Regions from separate parts of the Homo sapiens genome. Here region 2 is linked to region 1. Evidence: promoter capture Hi-C in 16 types of primary human blood cells and fetal thymus (Javierre and others, 2016). All regions are on one chromosome and are shown on one strand. Each heading gives the region's core, a stretch centred on a gene start or on the middle of the fragment in contact. The rest is flanking DNA. Distances are from core to core; before and after follow the strand shown.

Region 1 (5,645 bases), core at 182-2,681:
AGCCTCATTTGAAATGCAACACTACCCACGTATTTGATATACACCACTCTTTCAGACTATTTGTAGGTGAGTTCAATTTTTTCTAGTCAGGGTGACCTCATAAGACTTGGACATGGCCCAGCCTCGCTCCGAGGTGAAATCAAGGCAGTGGGATCACCCAGCAAAGTTGTTTTTCTTCTGCAGCCCAATGACAAGAATGACTAAAGCCAAGCAGAATGAAGATTGCCTAGCCTTTGTCAAATGGGATTGGTGAGGAGTTCCCTCTCTCACCAAGGAGTGGTTACATCCAGAGGAAAGCTGAGGTGCCACACAGTCTAAATCCTGAAATTGTGGGTCCTCAGGCACAAACCTCATCACTTTTGTGGACTACGAAATTGTCGCTGAAACCTGGGTTTGAGATAACAGCGGTTTTGAGAAGTTTGATTTATACATTCCAACCCACTTGAATGTCGTCTTAGAGTGCTGAGACTTGATGACTCTTACTAATCTCCCTCCCCCGCAGGCCAAACAGCCATTGCCTCCCAAATTCCAGCTTATATATTCATTTCTTAGGCAATTTTTCTCTTGGGGGAGGAAACAATGGACTCTTTCAATCTTCTCTTACCAACAAAGGGCCCTAGAAGAAAAAACAGTCCTTTCAATCACCTCCTTTATGACTTCTTGATCATGATGAGTGGGCCTTGCGGGTGGGGGGAGTGAGGGCCAGGAAAGGGAGAGGTGACAGGCAACTCACCTCTTTGAGCTGCTCCAGCTCCTGTTTGAGGCTGTCGTACTCAGCCTCCAGTTCATCATACTGCTGTTTGAGGGTCAGCTTCTCCTCCAGCACCACCAGCCCGTACTCGGCAGCCTGGATCTTCTCGTGGGTGGTCTCCGTGAGCTCCTTGGTTAGCCTCTCTATCTCAGTCTTATAATGGTCCACCGTCTGCAATACCTCTTCTGCGGCCATAGCCCCGGTGGATGGAGGCAGGAGGGGGTTACGGGGTGGGGGAGATGGATGCGAAGCTGGCGGGGAAAGGGAGAAGGAAATGGGAAGGGATGGGTGGAAACGGAAAAGAAAGTGCGGCCGGATGAATGAGCAGCGCGATGCCCCGCCGGCTCTGGTGGCAGCGGCAGCTACACCGCCCGAGAAACTGACGAGAAATGCAACATGGAGAACAGGGCAGAGGGTCAGGGGCGAGGCGGCAAAGGCCGCCGCATGTGTCCTCGGGGCCGGCCCCTGCGTGCGGTCAGCAGCCGTGCGGCATGGCCCGGGCTGCGGCGGCCGCGGGTAGCGAGGGGCTCCGGATTCTGCTTATTCAGAGACGCCCGTCCGCCATGTCTCCCGGGCCGCGTCACTGCAGTCTCGCCCTGGGTCTGGCGCGCTCCGGCTCGCGGCTCGCTCTCTCGCTCCACCTGCTCCCTCTGGCCCTGCAGCAGCCGGTGCGGAATGATGCAGTCTCGGGGCCGGCTCCCTCCCTTCCCGCGTGGCGGCGGCTCCGAGCAGGGGGCGGGGAGCGGATGGAGTCAGCGCGGGGGGCGGAGGGAAGGACCAGACGGAAACATCCCGAGGCGCCTCCCGCCGGGCGCGCGGGCCGCCGCCCGCTGCACCGTGAGGCGCGCCAGGAGGAGGCGCAGGCGACGGGTCTGGGACTGGGAAGCGGTGGGGCGCGCGCGGCGGGGGAGCCTCCGCCCTGTCCGGCTCGCGGGGGCGGGAGCTCCTCCCAGGGCTTTGTCCCGGTGGCAGTAGAAGACCCCGAGAGCGGCGTGGGCGCCCGGGCTCTTTTGCTACGTCGAGGGCCGAAGCTCAGGAAACTGCCTGGAACGCTTTCTCCCGAGAAAAGCAAACAAAACTATCGCGGTCGCGGTCCGCGCATCCTCCTCGTCCCCTGGGCGCGCAGAAGGCTTTTTGGGCCACCTGCCCCCAAAAGACCGCTGGGTTTCCCAAAGCTTTCAAGACGCACCCCAAGGCGCCCTCCTCCGTCGTCCCCCTCTCTCCCTGCCTCTCCCAAGTCTGGCCTGGGCCACCTAACACTCTCACCAGATAACCTTACTATCCTCACAGGACAGTCCGCTAAATATTGCTCGCCCTCACCCAGCGTATCACAAGAGCGCTATCCACTCAGAAAAAAAATATCTCCACAATACATGCACCCAGGAAACCTCTAGCTAGGTACTGTATATCTTGCCCCAATAGTTTCCATCAAAGCACCTTACTCTGTGTCTTCAATAAAGGAAAACTGCTTGAAATTCCCTATATAAGATACCAACGATGCCCTGTAATAAGCATTTTTTAAACAATAAGAGCTAAGAGTTCTTGAGACCCATACCAAGCATTCTTCTAAGTATGTAACATGCGTTCTCTCCAATCCTAACAATGCTTTGAGGTAAGAGCCATTATCCTCAGTTTACAGGGGGTGAAAGGCAAAGGGAGATGTGATTTGTCCAAAGTCAGGCAACTCTGGAATCTTAACTCGGGAGCACTAAACGGGATCATTATGTTGGCTTCAGGTTCACTCATTACTCATACAAACCCAGCAACTACATATTACATGCTTTTAAGATAATCACATTAATCCATATGAAGAGTGATGATGAACGGTTACAAAAGGAGGTGAAAGCAAAGTAAGAGTGGAGTAAATGAAAGAGTGGAGAAGGGTCGAGAATCAAGAGGAAGAACGCAACATGAGAGAAAAGAAGCAATTTCTGTGTAACGGGAGGCTGTGAGACCCACAGATCAGTGGGTCTTTCCAGTTCCCTCTCTTCTTCTGCATGGCACCTATTCCAGAGCTGTTTCTCAGTGACCAGGTGATGAACACACATGCGTTTTCTAAGTTAGAAAGCAGGACTCAACTCTCCCATCATTGTGTACCTGGTAAAAAAAAAAAAAAAAAAAAAAAAGATGATTGTTGACCGGGCACAGTGGCTCACGCCTATAATCCCAGCACTTTGGGAGGCAGAAGTGGATGGATCATTTGAGGTCCGGAGTTCAAGACTAGCCTGGCCCACATGGTGAAATCCCATCTCTACTAAAAATACAAAAATTAGCCAGGTATGGTGGTGCACGCCTGTGATCCCAGCTACTTGGGAGGCTGAGGCAGGAGAATTGCTTGAATCCAGGAGGTGGAGGGTACAGATGGCACCACTATACTCCAGCCTAGGCAACAGAGACTCCATCTCAAAAAAAAAAAAAAAAAAGGACACTTGTTGATGGCGTGGGAGAAAAAGCATATGACAGTGCCCTTCCAAAGTTTCCACTAGCAGGCTGTCTGGATGTGTTTTCCATTGCTTCACAAACCAGACAAGTTTCCTTCTAAACGCCAGCGATCACAACAGAATATTCTCATGTGATTGTCTGATCTAAAAATAAAACAAAAGAATATTCTCTTGTGATTGTCTGATCTAAAAATAAATAAATAAAAGGAGAAAACATTCCAAATGTGCAGCCACCATAAATTCCAGCCTTGTAGAGAAGCGGATGATAATGACTACAACATCCGACCCATCTTTCCTTATCTCGCACTCCAGGTGGGAAGCCCCTCCTGTGTGCTCCCGTGGCATCTGACCTCTGACACGTTGATGAATGATGATGAACTGCTGAAAAGAGATGGAACCTGCAATTGCAGGTAGCTAACCTGCCTTCCCAGGAAGCCTCTGGCTGTTCCTCACTCTACAAACTGTAAGCATAGGCCTTCCAAAGGGATCATAAGACTCGCACTAGATTGCCTGTGCCTCCCTCTCCTTTGGATCAAACTAAGAACAGAGTTTGCCTCTGTGACTTTCCTTTTTGCTAAATTTCCATTGTGGTCCAGCCCCTATGCTCTATCCTGCCCCGTTTTTCTGATTGATACACTTTTGTCACTTGTCACTTTTGTCTGATTTCAGGCATGTCTTGCACACTCTGACACTTTAAGATGTTGCTTAGTTGAACTTTGATCCTTAAATGTTGGTATTTAACGTAAAGAAGATAAACTTATTTTCTTGTTTTTTTTCTCTTTTTTTCTGAGACAGGGTCTCCATCACTTAGGCTGGAGTGGAGTGGCATGATCATGACTCCCTGCAGCCTCAACCTCCTGGACTCAAGCGATCCTCCCACCTCAGCCTCCTGAGTAGCTGGAACTACAGATGAATACCACCACACTCAGCTAATTTTTTAAATTTTTGTAGAGACAGGGTCTGTCTATGTTGCCCAGGCTGGTCTCAAACTCCTGGGATCAAGTGATCCTCCCACCCTGGCCTCCCAAAGTTCTGGGATTACAGATGTGAGCCACCATGCCCAGCCAAATTTATTTTCCTATACACCATGCTGTTCCAGTACTGCATAGTTACAGTTCCCTCTTTTTTCGTATATGCCATATGTATTGCATATATATCAATGACAGGTATATAGAAAATAATTTCTTAAAGCATTCCTAGGCTGGGTGTGGTGGCTCATACTGGTAATCCTAGCACTTTGGGAGGCTGAGGCAGAAGGGTCACTTGAGGCCAGCAGTTCAAGACCAGCCTGGGCAACATAGCGAGACCTCATGGCTACAAAAAATTAAAAAATACTAGCTGGGCATGGTAATACATGCCTGTGGTCCCCAATACTTAGGAGGCTGAGGCAGTATGATGGCTTGAACCCAAGAGATTAAGGCTGCAATGTACTGATTGTGCCACTGTGCTCTAGCCTGGTGACAAAGCAAGACTCACCAAAAGAAAAGAAAAAAAGGCCAGGCTCGGTGGCTTACACCTGTAGTCCCAGTACTTTGGGAGGCCGAGGTGGGCGGATCATCTGAGGTCAGGAGTTCGAGACCAGCCCGACCAACATGGTGAAACCCCATCTCTACTAAAAATACAAAAATTAGCTGGGTGTGGTGGTGGGCGCCTGTAATCCCAGCTACTCGGGAGGCTGAGGCAGGAGAATCACTTGAATTCGGGAGTTGGAGGTTGGAGTGAGCAGAGATCCGCCACTGCACTCTAGCCCAAGTGACAGAGTGAGACTCCGTCTCAAAAAAAAGAAAAGAAAAAAAGCAAAAAAAAAAAGCACAAGCTAGTCTACTTGGGTCATATCCAACTTTGCCACTTACTAGCTGTGTGTTTCTCAGTTGTGTCATATCTAAAAAGGAGATAATAATATAATCTAATTATGAGATTGTTGTGAATAGAATAGTATCACACACATAAGCATTTTATATGTGCTTTTTAAAAGTTTTAAAAGAAAAACAAGGATAAAATTTAGGTAGAAAGAAGAAAAAAAGATAATCAGTAGAGATCTCTCTGAAGAAGTGATATTCATTTTATTATCTATGAGGAACAAAAAGGAGTCGGATATACAAAATGTGGGGGAGAAGCTTTTCAGGGAAAGGAAATAATGTGTAAAAGCCAAAGGCAGAAAAGAGCTTGTTGAGTGCAAAGAATAAAAATCTGAGAGGCTGCTGGGTGCAGTGGCTCATGCCTGTAATCTCAGCACTCTGGGAGGCCAAGGTAGGAGGATTATGTGAGCTCAGGAGTTCGAGACCAGCCTGGGCAACATACCAAGACCCCATTTCTACTAAAAAAAAAAAAAATTTTAATCGAACGAGCATGGTGGTGCATACCTGTAGTCCCAGCTACTTGGGAGGCTGAGGTGGGACGATCCCATGAGCCTGGCAGTGAAGGCTACAGTGAGCCATGATCGTGCCACTGCA
Region 2 (5,008 bases), core at 1,954-4,453, 220 kb before region 1:
AGAACTCAAATTTTGTCACCTGTGCTCTGTGGGCCCAAAACATAGAATAAAAGACATACACCATTGTAATTTATAATATGAGTATATGATAAACTATAAATCCATGTTATCATACATTTAAGGAAAAGAAGTGATAAAGAACTAATTACTTTCTAATTTGCATACAATTTGTCCAAACAATGAAATATAGTGAAATATAATTCCTTCAAAATCTCCATAAAAGTAGGGGTTATAAAATGTTGAATGAGTTAAAACATTTGTTTGAATCTGGGATTTGGGCATGTCCGAAGTTCTTGGAATTAATAGTGTTTCAAATCAAGAGCTACCCTGGCACACACACAAGTAAAAAAACACACTGACTGAATCAATGCATAAAATCAGTGTATACTTAGGGATTGCCTGTTTGATGCATAGCACACAGTTTGCATGTTGAAGCCAAACTGGGAACACATGATTTTTACAAACTGGAAACTATAACTTTTCAAAGTGTATACAAATACCCCATACTAATGAACAACCCCATTACTAGCAGAGAAATCCATTACTAACGGGATTTCCCAGGAAGACTACCTTGGTTTTTAACATTTCTTTTTGTTGCTTGAAATGGGCAGCTTCAAACCTTCATATGCAAAGTGCCAACATCTATAGAAATAAATTCTTTCTTAATTAAATCAATGTTGGGATAGGGTACTTTGTTACTGTTTTGATTCCGAAGTAGTTTCTTGTGAGTTTTGATTGGATTTAAATTCAGATTAAAATGAGACTTTACTCATAAAATACTTCTGTATGTTCTGTAAATACTTGGAGGAATCTTCAGAAATATTACAGATTCAGAAAATTATCCACAAGGCAGAAATTGACCTGGGGAAAAACGGCAGTTGTTTAGTGTTTAAAAAGCTTAGACACATATTCATTTAAAACAGAAAAGTATGTTTAAGTTGTGAAATGTAGATGTAACAAATTTGTAAGCACATAGAATCCCATGGTCAGTATCTAAGGGGAATAAAATGGGGGATAACAGAAGAGCTAGATCTGAAACAGAAATACAAAATCATTTATTGTTTGTGACAAATACCCCAAAGCCTCAGTTTTGTTTGTAGATTTGTTTGTCCATTGACTGTGCAAAGTTTTTCCAGAATTAAGTAATTTTAAGTATCCATAACTCACTGGATTTGCTGATTTCTGCTTTCACCACTTTCTCCACACATTCCAAAGTTGACTTTCTAAATAAAAAAAGTCTTATTTCCAGCCACATAGGCCTTTGTGAGCATTCCCTGAATATATTATTCTATTTTGTCACTCCAAAGCCTCTCTACCTACTGTTCTGTCTGGAATTACTTCCTCCTCCTCTGGAAAACAACTTCTTATCCTTTAATAACAAACTAAGGTATAATTGCTTCTGTGAAGTCTTTTCCGCTCCTCTAGGAAACCTTAGTTGCTTCCTCTGCATTGTTCTCATAACTTGGATTACAGCATGTGTAACGTTGAACTGTAATTGTGTTTCTATCCTGACATCCCCAGGAGGCTGAGTCTTCTGGAAGGCAGGGACCATGTGTTAGTCTTCTTTGAATCTTCAGCATCTAGCACAGTGCTAGATGGACGGTGCTTCATAAGCATTTACTGACTTCATCAGAAGGCACTGTGCCTATGAAAAAATCCTTAAGTAAATGAGAAGATTCATAGAGACTACAGAATGCCTATTTATTTATTTTTAACTTTTAAGTTCAGGGGTACAGCTGCAGGATGTGCAGGTTTGTTACATAGGTAAATGTGTGTCATGGGGGTTTGTTGTACCAATTATTTCTTCACCAGGTATGTAAGCCTAGTATCCATTTGTTATTTTTCCTGATCATCTCCTTCCTCTCATCCTTCAGCCTCCAACAGGAACCAGTGTGTGTTGTTCCCCTCTATGTGTCTATTTGCTCTCATCATTTAGCTCCCACTTATAAGTGAGAACATGCGGTATCTGGTTTTCTGTTCCTGTGTTAGTTTGCTAAGGATAATGGTCTCCAGCTCCAACCATGTCCCTGTAAATGACATGATCTCATTCTTTTCTTTCTTATGGCTGTATAGTAGAATGCCTATTTTAAAACAGGGAGATTTCCTTTTTTCCCCTGTACCCCAGAATTCTCACCTTAACCTTAAAAACAAACATTTCACAATGTCTAAATAAATATAGTGAATGTCATCTGTTAATACTTGAAGCTATTTACGGCAATAAGCATCACAGCAACAGCCCCAACATCATGAACGTGCAGACCAAATGCATTGCTAGAAATGTGTTTTCATTTAATTTACTGAGCCCATATAGACTGTAACTCTAATGTAATGCAAATGGTACAGGTTGAGCATCCTTAATCCAAAATCCAAAATGCTTCAAAATCTGAAACCTTTTGAGTGCTGACATGAGCCACAAAATTCTACACCTGACCTCATGTCATGAGTGGCAGTCAAAACTTTGTTTCAGCCACGGAATCATTAAAAAAATTGTATAAAATTACCTTCAGGCTATGTATATAGGAATACATGAAACATAAGTAAATTTCATGTTTGGACCTGGATCCCATCCCCAAGATAACTCATTATGTATATATGCAAATGTCCAAAATCCAAAATCTGAAACATTTCTTGTCCCCCAAAACATTTCGGAAAAGGGATACTCAACCTGTACCACAAAGCACAGTGAAAATAAAACTTCAGCTAGGAATGCTTTGTTCTGTTCTGATTTCCTGTGGTACTGTTTACATCACTCTAAAGTGCTTGATAAGTCCTGTCTTGTAAACAGCTACAGGCAATTGCGGAATTCCTACTAGATTATGTCATTTATTTTTGCATCCCTACTTACTGCCTCCCAGAAAATATGTAATCAATGAATGCTTGTTCACAAATTAGTCTCTGTTGGTTGGCCAAGTGTCCTTATCTATACCTCTGTTTCAGTTAAGCATCTTGATTTTTTTTTTTTTAAGACAGATTTTCGCTCTTGTTGCCCAGGCTGGAGTGCAATCATGCAATCTAGGCTCACCGCAACCTCCGCCCCCCGGGGTTCAAGTGATTCTCCTGCCTCAGCCTCCCGAGTAGCTGGGATTACAGGCACCCGCCACCACGCCTGGTTAATTTTGTATTTTTAGTAGGGACGGTGTTTCTCCATGTTGGTCAGGCTGGTCTCAAACTCCTGACCTCAAGTGATCCACTGGCCTTGGCCTCCCAAAGTGCTGGCATTACAGGCGTGAGCCATTGCGCCCAGACCTAAATTGTTAATATTCAACCTTTAGGAAGAAGTCAGAGAAGTTATCTGGATGGCTTGATCAAGAATGCCCCAGGATAGCATGTCCTTGTGTAAGCCTTATCTAATATGGTATTGGTTATTTATGACCACTCTGAATCATTGGGTCTTTAAATTATAGCAGAGTTACAATAATAAATTCCTTTATTCCGACCTAAAATTAGAGTCAGATCTCTCACAAATTCTTCATTCACTCTAATCTTTTCTTTTTTTATTTTATTTATTTTATATATATATATTTTAATTTACTTTAAGTTCTAGGGTACATGTGCACAACGTACAGGTTTGTTACATATGTATACATGTGCCATGTTGGTGTGCTGCACCCATTAACTCGTCATTTACATTAGGTAAATCTCCTAATGCTATCCCTCTCCCCTCCCCCCACCCCACAACAGGCCCCGGTGTGTGATGTTCCCCTTCCTGTGTCCATGTGTTCTCATTGTTCGATTCCCACCTATGAGCGAGAACTTGTGGTGTTCGGTTTTTTGTCCTTGCGATAGTTTGCTGAGAATGATGGTTTCATTCACTCTAATCTTTTCTATTTCTCTAAAGTGACAACATAAAATAAAGTCATATTTTGCCCTTAGGTTTATATAAAACATGTTAATAGTGCAAACAATATTATGGCTTATGGTATAGATGTCAATTATATAAATAGATTTATGGGAACTAGAGATGAGGACTTGAAAGCTGCACTGTAGATGAGATAATAAGGGCGTGGTTTTCCCCAGATGATGGCAAATGGAGAAGACACTCTGAATCTGAAATTAATCCTCATTCTCCAAAGACCAAGAGCTCCCTTGACCTACTATTCACTGGCACTGCTTGCGTTTGCAGGAGGGTATTTGGTGCTTTGTTGCTTCTCTTTATCAACACCAACATTTATTCAGCACCTTTCTCAAATATGTGTCTTTCAAGAATATCTTTTCAGATAAACTAAATAAAGGTGAAAATAATTTTCCTGCCTATATTTCGCAGCACTCCCACCAAGGTAAAACTCAGGGTGAAAACAATTTCAGTCATTAAGGAGGGCTGGGAATTAGACAGGTTCATGTTGTAACATTACTACTTGTCCAGAAGGACAAGATCAATAGCTAGGAAAAGCTCCCTATTACTTAACCTCTGACCCAGGTGGGTTAACATCCCAAATGAACCTAAATTTCAGATACGTGGTCAGTAGCACAGGTAGAGCTCATTCTTATACTCTCTCACACACACTCTCTATTATTTCCTTGCTAAAGTGGCCCCAAACTATTTAATTTGTTGGTAACAATCTGTCTGGCTTTGTTTCTGTTACTCACTCAGGTCCTCACAGTTGTCTTGCCTTTCATCCCTGACTTATTCATTTATTTAGCGCTCTTGTTTCTCTAAGTTTGGGATGAAGGACAAAACACTCCTTTTAATCTTGCTATACTTGGCTGGGCGCGGTGGTTCATGCCTGTAATCCCAGCACTTTGGGAGGCCGAGGTGGGCGGATCACTTGAGGTCAGGAGTTCGAGACCAGCCTAGACAATATGGTGAAATTCTGTCTCCACAAAAAGTTAGCCAGGCATGGTGGCACATGCCTGTAATCTCAGCTGCTTCGGAGGCTGAGGCATGAGAATCGCTTGAACCCAGGAGGCGGAGGTTGCAGTGAGCAGAGATGGCGCCAGTGCACTCCAGCCTGGACAACAGAGCGAGACTCTGTCTCAAAACAAAAATAAAAAATAATAATAATAATAA

The links. Contacts are between HindIII fragments. The CHiCAGO score rates a contact against its expected background, and 5 or more counts as called.
Region 2: a contact is called between a fragment that was not itself captured here and the fragment with the promoter of BICD1 in region 1, in 1 of 17 cell types (M2 macrophages). The highest score is 5.4, in M2 macrophages.

Annotation. Positions count from the first base shown.
Region 1 is chr12:32,102,633-32,108,277 of GRCh38, reverse strand. It overlaps BICD1 (BICD cargo adaptor 1), which reads right to left and starts at 1,431. Exons shown (of 10, transcript NM_001714.4): 1 at 734-1,431. The coding sequence starts at 946. BICD1-AS1 (BICD1 antisense RNA 1) reads left to right here and starts at 816. Exons shown (of 3, transcript NR_185992.1): 1 at 816-884; 2 at 3,505-3,602; 3 at 3,988-4,161. RefSeq lists enhancers at 1-461, 989-1,068 and a silencer at 1,429-1,908. The HindIII fragment of the contact is 11,162 bases long and covers 1-1,928 here.
Region 2 is chr12:32,329,091-32,334,098 of GRCh38, reverse strand. The region is part of intron 5 of BICD1 (BICD cargo adaptor 1); the gene reads right to left. Among named protein-coding and RNA genes, the nearest start is that of FGD4, 68 kb to the left of the region's middle. The HindIII fragment of the contact is 4,608 bases long and covers 900-5,008 here.